2 separate regions of the Homo sapiens genome follow, and region 2 is linked to region 1. Evidence: promoter capture Hi-C in 16 types of primary human blood cells and fetal thymus (Javierre and others, 2016). All regions are on one chromosome and are shown on one strand. Each heading gives the region's core, a stretch centred on a gene start or on the middle of the fragment in contact. The rest is flanking DNA. Distances are from core to core; before and after follow the strand shown.

Region 1 (4,688 bases), core at 1,992-4,491:
TTCATGGCTGCATAGTATTCTATGATGTATATGTTCATTTTCTTTATCCAAGTCATGATTTAATTTAATTCCTGCTTTTTCCATGAATTAAAAATATTCTTTGTCTCTGAGGCATCTTATATATTCTGCAAGCATCTATAAAACAGTAACAGGCTAGCTTATTAGCTTGCAAGTAGGATAAGACTTTTCACAGTTCTTGGCAGGCATTATCTACTAAAGTTGAAGATACTCGTAACCTGTAACTCTGCAACTCTACTCCTAAATGTATGCTCAACAGAAATGCATGTGATCTGTACTAAGAGACTTATACAAGAATGCTCATAACAGCATTTTTAAAAACTTCATTCTTCATGCTTTTGTTTAAAGTCTCTTTTTAATCCTACCTCTCAAGGCTAGAATGGTCCATAGTTAGAATTGGCGGTCACAGTATGAACTCATTGTTAATATAGATACAGAAGAATACACACAGAAATATTTTATAGATACAGTCATGCATTGCATATTAACTGTTCAGTCAACAATGGACTTCATATATGACTGGTGGTGCCACAAGATGATAATACTGTATTTTTACTTTTTTTACATTTAGATATGTTTAGATATGCAGGTTGCCTACAGTATTCAGTACATTAACATACTATACATATTTGTAGCCCAGGAGCAATAGGCTATACCATATAGCCTAGATGTCTAGTAGACTACACCATCTAAGTTTGTGTAATTACACTCTATGATGTTCTCACAATGACAAAATCACCTAATGATGCATTTCTCAGAACACATCCCCATCATTAAGCAATGCATGACTGTATGTGTATATACCCAGATTAGTACACACACATCTATTTCTTTACTCTGTTAGCTGAAAGGGCCTAAAACAAACGACACCCTAGCACCTGGGTGCTAGCAACAAGTACACCTAGCACCCAGATTTTGGTTTCTAAATAGCATTCTCCAAAAAAGGAACCAGGGCTCCTTGGAGAAATGGTCGATTCTAGGACTGGGACAGGAAACATACAAGATGAGTCCAGAGTAGTGCCAAAAAGAAAGTACTTAAAAACAAAAACAAACAAACAAAAAAACCCCACACAGATGGCATTGATGGGGCATGTCATAAGAGCACAGGAACCAACTGAAAGAGCTCCCAATGGCTAAAGCTGGAACAATTTGAGCAAAATAAAATAGCATTATAATCCAAAGTATAAAGTGAATATCCATGAGTCTATACTGATATAAAGGTTTGAACAAACCAATAAATGGAGAAGAGACAAATCTGTGCAGAATAATTCCAAAAAATTTATGTATATATACTCCAACCTTAAGAACAGGAGCATGGAGCTGGGCACAGTGGCACACACCTATAATTCAAGCTACTCGGGAGACTGAAGCAGGAGGATTGCTTAAGGCCAAGAGTTTGAGGCTGCAGTGCATTATGTTTGCACCTGTAAATAACAACTGTACTCCAGCCTGGGCAACATAGCAAGACCCTGTCTCTAAAAATATTAAACAGTGGGGGTGGGGAATATAACTCCCCATTCCTTAGGTGTGGCTGCACACCCAGGAGGTGGAGGTTGCAGTGACCTGAGATCCCATTCCTGCACTCCAGCGTGGGTGATAGAGCGAGACTCTGTCTTAAAAAAAAAAAAAAAAAAAAAAAAAGAAAGAGAAAGTCACTTTCAGTGATGGTAAGTTAGTATCTCCCAAGGTGATTTCATTCTACTTTTCAACAACTTTAATAATTAGAAAGTTCTTCCTGCTGAGTTGAAACCAGCTGCTCTCTAATTTCCTCATTTATTGCATGAATGAATGAATGAGAAGTTAACTAGCTCCATGAGAGCAGGGACACATTCTGATTCTGTTTTACCTTACTCAGCACCTGGCACTCAGTAGACACTCAAAGATTTGTGAATGAGTAAATGGTGAGTTGGCTGGGGGAAGGGCTTCAACTTCTATAACCCCCCCTACACATACTTACTAATACACCCACATAGCTATGAATACATATATGCAAAGGTTACAAGAACTTTTTGGAGTAGTTACTGGTATGTATGTGGATATGTATGTTTGTGCCTATCAGTTAGTAATCCATAAATGTTCATTTAAATCTTTACACCCTTATACATAGGTTTTAAAAACAATTTAACTAAAGCTAAGAGAAGTAAAGTAATCACGTGCACAATAAGTGAGAAAGGAGTGGGGTCAGTCGTGTCCCAAGTCCCTGTTAAAGGTGAGGAATGAATCAGAAACCTGGGGCTGGGGCAGTGCCTTCTCAGCATTTCTGGGGAAAAGCTCCTCGACCAGCAGCCAAGCAAGGACTGTGTGGCTTTGGGCAAATCACGTCACCTCTGGTTAGGCTGCATCCTCACCTGAAAACAAAAAGCTTCTAAACGGGAGGTGAACGCTGAGCGTGCAGGGACAGAGGGGAGGGGCAGGCGCGGGGGACGGGACCGGGGGACCAGAAGGTGGAGGAGGGACAGTCACTAATGGGCACCTGGGGGACGACAGAATCTGGACAACAAACTCCCGTGACACGAGTTTAACCTATGTAACACACCTGCACACGGACTCCTGAACCTAACATAAAAGTTAAATTAAAAATAAAAACAAAAAGCGTGGGCCCAGTGGCCTCTTAAACCTTTGCCAGTTCCAAGGCCCTGGTATTCTGGGCTTTTGTTGCTACTGTTTTGTTTTTTCCAAGCTCTGGAGTGTTTGCAAATTTAAGTTTAACACTGCCCCATCATCTCCAGCAAGTCACTTTCCCTGCTCAGTCTCCTCACGGGTCCAGTGAGGCGCCGGCCTACAAGGATCTTCACGGTCTCTTCCATTCTTTACTTTTCGGAGTGACCAACAAAGCCTAAAGCAAATAAAATTTACACTCGCAGGTGGGTGACGGACTTCTGACAGGGAAAACCCCGAGGGAGCCCTTTCCACACCGATTCTCAAGGGGAAAATAGGGTGGGCAGGATCTCCTCCCCTCACCCGCCAAAGCCCTGAGGTAAAGCTCTGAGCTCGGCAAGTCAGAGAGCACTACGCCGGCGAAGAACGAAGAAAGAAAAACGCGAAGAGACAGGTCTGCCGAGGCCTCATCCCCAGCGCTGCAAACCCACCTGCTCACCAGGTCCTCAGAGACCGCTCAGGGTTTCCCAAACTTCCAGAACGTTCCGTGAGCAGTGAGAGGCGCCGCCGGTAGGGCAGAGCGCCCAGGGTGCCTGGGGCAGGGTTCTGCAGTCGCTGGGCTTCTGCGCAACCGCAGACCCCGCAAACCTTTTCCGCGCTTCTGGCTCCCTAGAGCGAGGTTTGCAGGAAGCCGGAAGTGGTTAAGAAGATACAAGATTTGTAGGCCTGGCGCGGTGGCTCATGCCACTAATCCCAGCACTTTGGGAGGCCGAGGTGGGCGGATCACGAGGTCAGAAGTTTGAGACCAGCGTACCAACATGGTGAAACCCCGTCTCTACTAAAAATGCAAAAATTAGCTGGGCATGGAGGCGCGCACCTGTAATCCCAGCTACTCGAGAGGCTGGGGCAGGAGAATCGCTTGAACCCAGGAGGCGGAGGTTGCAGTGAGCGAGATCGCACCACTGCACTCCAGCCTGGGTGACAGGGCAAGACTCCGTCTCAAAAAAAAAAAAAAAAAAAAAACAAGATTTTTGCGTGTTAGACTCAGTTGTCCGGAATTGATTTTCACAGTTTTCTAAAATTCAGGCTCAATTCTTAGATTTCTGTCATTTGCAACATAAAATCAAAGTGGCCTTCAGTTTATCCAAATTATGAAAAAGGTAGATTTTCATGAGCAGCTGTCAAAAGGACATACAGGGGCCTGTGTGTTTGCTTTTTAGGACCCCATTATGTTCAGACCTAATTGAAGCTCAGCAATTTATTAAGTGTCACAATCATAAAAATGTAAAAAGACAAAGACCACTACTTGCCTTGAGCCTAATGGTTAGGATACAAAACTATGTGCCTTACTTTGTAAAACAGGTATTCCTGTAGAAAGAAAGGTGCTCCAGGAAAAATCCTTTGGAGCACACTTGTGATGTGCTGTTAATTTTTCCCTGTGATAACCATTTTGTATGTTTGGCATTTTGTATAACTGATATTAAAATTAGGTGCACTCTTGCTGCCTCATTTGGGCAGTTTGTTAAGCCACCACACCTGGCCTCTTGTTTATAAATTACCTGGTCTAAGGTATTTTGTTATCGTGGCCATAATGGACTAAGACAATTCCTCCTCTCTTCAAATCTCCAGAACTTATTCCTCATCTTCATTTTCGGCTGAAGTGAAATAGTTACTGCTAATATTTCATAAAGATTTATGATTTTAATAGTATTTAGTATTTAATATTAAATACTATTCAAATGAGATAAATAAAAGCATCCAGAAACGAAGTTCCACAGATGTCCACCTACCAATCTACCAACATCTATATGCCAGATTCTGCTTTCTTTCCAACTATAGTAGGTGAACTGTATAATCCTATGTAAGGCCAGCCCTCAAATGGACAACAGAGCCCATCTCTTCTTGCTTACCCAAGAATATAGCTCCACCGGCCAGTCGCGGTGGCTCACGCCTGTAATCCCAGCCCTTTGGGAGGCTGAGGCAGGTGAATCACAAGGTCAGGAGATCAAGATCAGCCTGGCCAATATGGCAAAACCTCATCTCTACTAAAAATACAAAAAATTAGCCAGGTG
Region 2 (4,963 bases), core at 1,367-3,866, 220 kb after region 1:
AAATTAGCTGGGCATGGTGGTACACACCTGTAATCCCAGCTACTTGGGAGGCTGAGGCATGAGAATCGCTTGAATCTGGGAGGCAGAGGTTGCAGTGAGCCGAGATCGTGCCACGGCACTCCAGCCTAGGCGACAGAGTGAGACTCCATCTCAAAAAAAAACAACAACAAAAAAACACAAACAAGAGGACCAATGATAGGTAGGTATGTGGGTAGGGGAAGGATGTTGCTCAGAAGTACTTTTTCAAAAAATTACGTAGGCAAAAATTAGGCTTAGAGATCCAACATTTCATTTAAGTCAGGGCTTTTAAATACCTCTTGTACCACTTCCAAACCCAATTTCAAATCCCTTCAAGATTTGTTAGAAAAAAAAAATTACTTTTACCTTCTGTACAGGAGCTTGACATTCAGATTCTAACATCGTTGTGTCACTATCACCAGATGGATGCATCACAGTTATGCCATTTGAGAGCTGTTCAGAATCACCTGGATGCACACATTTTTAGAATAGTATAATTAAAATATTTCATCCTACTTACCCAGAATTTGATTTTATTTTTCCTTCCAGGTCAGACACTATGAAAACAAAGAGACTAATTTTTTGATGCATCATTTAACTTTGGAATATTCTTAGTTAGGGACTTGTTATACTATAAAATATTTCTCATTTGAAAGTTACCACTTTGCTCTTTTTTTGTTATTTTTGCTTGTTCTGGTCAGCATGAAATATAGCTGACATCATACTCACCCACCAAAACCTTTTTATCTGACCCCATGCTATAGCAGCTCTCCAGTTTAGACTGACCTCAGCTCCAGAGGTGTGTTTTTTTTTTTTGCGGGGAGAGGGTCTTGCTTTGATGCTCTAGGCTGAAGTACAGTGGTGCAATCTTGGCTCACTGCAACCTCCACCTCCAAGGTTCAAGCAATTCCCCTGCTTTAGCCCCCTGAGTAGCTGGGATTACAGGCACCCACCACCATGCCTGGTTAATTTTTGTATTTTTAGTAGAGATGGGGTTTTACCATGTTGGCCAGGCTGGACTTGAACTCCTGACCTTCAGTGATCTGCCCGCCTCAGCCTCCCAAAGTGCTGGGATTACAGGCATGAGCCATTGTGGCTGGCCAGGCCTGTAAATTTCAACATGAGTTTTGGAGAGGACAAACATTCAAAACCATAGCATAACTTATCTAAAGCAATTTAGACTGCTGATAAAACCCAGTTATCACTAAACATTTACTGAGCACATACTATGTACTAAGCACTGGGAACGTAAGGATGACTAAAATGTAATAACTATCCTCAGGTATTACGCGCCCAGCCTAGAGGTGGGTTTTAATAAGGCCAAGCCAATCCTGGTAATTCTATCTCACCATCAGTAACTCATTTAGGAAGAGCAGACCTAAGCCAGTGCAGGGCTTCCAAGGGAAAGATGCTGCCTGGGTGGCCAATTGGAGACAAAAAAACACAGAGAGGGAAACTAAGATACCAGACACTCAAAATAGCTACCAAGGGAACAGGGATGTGAAACGCAGTAAGTCTGACTCTGAGGTGAGGAGAACAAACTATGCAATTTCATTAATTCTTAAGTTTTCATGCAAATATTTCATTTATTATTATTGTGAAGATTAACTACAGAGTGTGAGCCCTTATCAAGCCATGACTAAAAGATTGACCTATCTTTGGACTATTGCTTATGTATGCCAACAAAATTCCTTTATTAAATCAGTTTGGGCTGAGTTTTCTGTCATCTGCAACATGGAACATCCTGATGCGTGAAACTTAATTGATCACTTGATTCAATTCTCTCTAGTCATAGTCTACAGGTTCTAATTCGTGGCTGAAGAACAAGAGGGACAAATCAAAACTGAGCTGCTGTCTTTGTTAACTAACCCAAACTAACAAAATCCTGGCCACTTACATATTATAGGGACTTACATTTAAGCTTCTACCATCCATCAATCCCTTGACTGATTCTCTGGCTAAATCATACTGAGGTTGAGGTTAGAAGAAGAGAGCAAGGAACATCAAGGAATAGCAGTGAGCATAGGAGGGCAAGACAAAACACTGTCAAAGAATGCAGAACAAAAGCTCACATTTTTAATTTGTACGTCTGTACACAGCCTCAATGTAGCCATGTTTCCTCACTTCAACAAGGAAAGGGAAAAAATAGTGAGAAAAGCTGTAAGTATAGGACTGCCTTCCCTTCTCTGCTTCCTGTCAGTGATTATTTAGGAAGGAGAAAAAGTATGTATGGTAAGTGAAATTCTAAAGTGACCCTTAATTTGCTGACTCTAAGTTGGTAAGTGGTGATAGTGCCATTATTGACAATTAAAGAGGAAGGATTAAAATCTGGGGACCAGACTGGGTGCACTGGCTCAGGCCTGCAATCCCAGCACTTTGGGAGGCCAAGGCGGGAGGATTCCTTAAGCCCAGAAGTTTGAGACCAGCCATGGTGAGATCCCATCTCTACCAAACAAAACAAACAAATAACAACTTAGCTGGGCATGGTGGCACACATTTGTGGTCCCAGCTACTTGAGAGGCTGAGGTAGGAGGATGACTTGAGCCCAGGCGGTTGAGGCTGCAGTGAGCCATATTTGCGCCACTGTACTCCAGCCTGAGCAACACAGGCAGACTGTCTCAAAAAAATAAATACAATCTGAGGACTAAAAGGGGGAATTCAGTTTTTACATGGCTGTGTTTGGAATGCCTATGTGATGTTTAAGTAAAGACATTTAGTAGAGTTGTATAAACATGCCTGGGGCCTGGATACATTTGAATTGTAAAAATGAGACTAGAAGTCATGGATGCCAAAGATCACCCAAGTATAGAGCACTGCTTCCAACCTTTTCCATGTCATGATATATAGAAAATGATCAATGTATGGCCACCTGCATAAATGGAAAGGCTGCTCCCAGCTCATTGCTATAAGAGCTGAGGGGACATTCATTCAGTAAGACTGTGCTTTGAAACATGGTTGGGAAATTCTGGGGTAGATGAAAAAAACAGAGAGGCTTAAGGATGCAATTCAGAGAATTATCAACATCTAAAGGGAGGCAAATAAAGAGATATCTGTAAGGAACAGACAGATGGGATTGTTAAGAGAGGTGTCATAAAAGCCTAGGAAGTATGTCAAGGGTCCAACTCTCTGAAAAATATTTTTACATGAATGACCCTGTGATACCTCAAAAGACTACAAAACTCATCTTTCCTCAGAAGCCTATTCTTCATCTTGTGTCCCGGGTCTGTCAACCTGGACAGTATCCAGCCAGTATCCTGTGAGCCACCGAAGCTTATATCCCTGGGTTATTAACCCAGCATGTTTTCATATTTTGCAGACCTGCCCATTCTACTCTTGCAATTTCTTTTAACTTTCCCCTTCTCTTTCCTTCTATCACTTTATGTCATTTTTTCCCTACTACTGCAACAGCCCAGCTGGTCTCCTTCCCTTCTCTGGTCTCTATATTCTCCTTTCCTTCAACTCACCTAAATAATATTGGCAAATTAATCACTCAGAGGCACACCTTCACTCAAAAAAACCTTCATTGCCTCCCCACTGACTATGCTATTATAATTAAGTCCAAAGTATCTAAAGGGTTAAATGATCTAAACCTGGTCTACCTTTGTAATTTTCCACATTCCTGTTTAATCCAACCAAATCTTTAATCACATGGAATTATGAGTTGCCTAAATACCTTCACATTCATGTTGCTTCCTCCATCCAAATGCCTTTCCATACTAAATAAACATAGGTAAGCCTTATTTTTTTTCTGCACTATCCAGCTCAAATGATACTCATTCTGTAAAATATGTATCTGCCAAACACATCAGGTGATTCTGCCTTCTTCACCTCCTTAAACTTCACTTTAGGTTCTTTCAGGGCACATTATTTTTACTTTATATACCAGTTGTTTATTTCTCCTATGAGATAGCAAACTCCTGGATTTACTTTTTCATTTGCAATTATGAATTCATGTTTATATAACAGCCTAAATATTTTAAAAACTCAATATAATTTGGTGAAGTTTAAAAAAATTTTTTTATTATACTTTAAGTTCTGGGATACATGCGCAGAATGTGCAGGTTTGTTACACGTGCCATAGTGGTTTGCTGTACCCATCAACCTGTCATCTACATTAGGTATTTTTCCTAATGCTACCCCTCTGCTAGCCCCCCATCCCCCAACAGGCCCCAGTGTGTGATGTTCCCCTCCCTGTGTCCATGTGCTCTCAGTGTTCAACTCCCACTTATGAGTGAGAACATGCAGTGTTTGGTTTTCTGTTCTTGTATTAGTTTGCTGAGGATGATGGTTTCCAGCTTCATCCATGTCCCTGCAAAGGACATGAACTCATCCCTTTTCATGGCGGCAATTTAGTGAAGTTTTTATGAGAAGGGGAAAGGGTAAACTATAAGGATAAGGGTATGGCTAAAAGCTTCAACTTATAAGGAAAAAAAATTCAACATTGTCCATTTCATGTGGAGATCATATGTGGGCAGGTGTGATGAAAACCAGTAACACTTAAAAATTCATTTTTTAATCTTTTATGTACTCTAACATTTTGTCAAACTATTTTTCCAATAAGAAAACTTCAACATATTGCTTTTATCATTTAATTGTAAGGTTTAACAAAAAATTTATTTCTATTGAGATTTAACTCCAGAAAAAGAAAATGTCTCTATAAATTTTATGGCTCACATACATTTGCAATTTCCCTTGGGCATAGTGCCACCTACAGTTGGCAAATGTAAACCATGTTGTTTCTGAGAATCTTGCTAACTGCAAAAGAACAGCTACTCTGGCATCATCCAAACTTTCCTTTATATATTAGCTTACTAATAGGCATCATATAAACAGAATTTCAAGTAATATAATAAACTGATCCTTACTGAAGGTGTAGGTATTAAAAGCCTGACTTTTCATAGATAGGGTGTTTTCTTAAATTAGGAATAAGAGAACACCTTGACTA

What was found. Contacts are between HindIII fragments. The CHiCAGO score rates a contact against its expected background, and 5 or more counts as called.
Region 2: a fragment that was not itself captured here is called in contact with the fragment with the promoter of C1orf146 in region 1 in 1 of 17 cell types (M1 macrophages); the score reaches 5.7 in M1 macrophages.

The regions. Positions count from the first base shown.
Region 1 is chr1:92,216,468-92,221,155 of GRCh38, reverse strand. It overlaps C1orf146 (chromosome 1 open reading frame 146), which reads right to left and starts at 3,241. Exons shown (of 6, transcript NM_001012425.2): 1 at 3,108-3,241. The HindIII fragment of the contact is 5,529 bases long and covers 2,383-4,688 here.
Region 2 is chr1:91,997,571-92,002,533 of GRCh38, reverse strand. BRDT (bromodomain testis associated) reads right to left here. Exons shown (of 19, transcript NM_207189.4): 16 at 385-485. Among named protein-coding and RNA genes, the nearest start is that of EPHX4, 30 kb to the left of the region's middle. The HindIII fragment of the contact is 1,349 bases long and covers 1,942-3,290 here.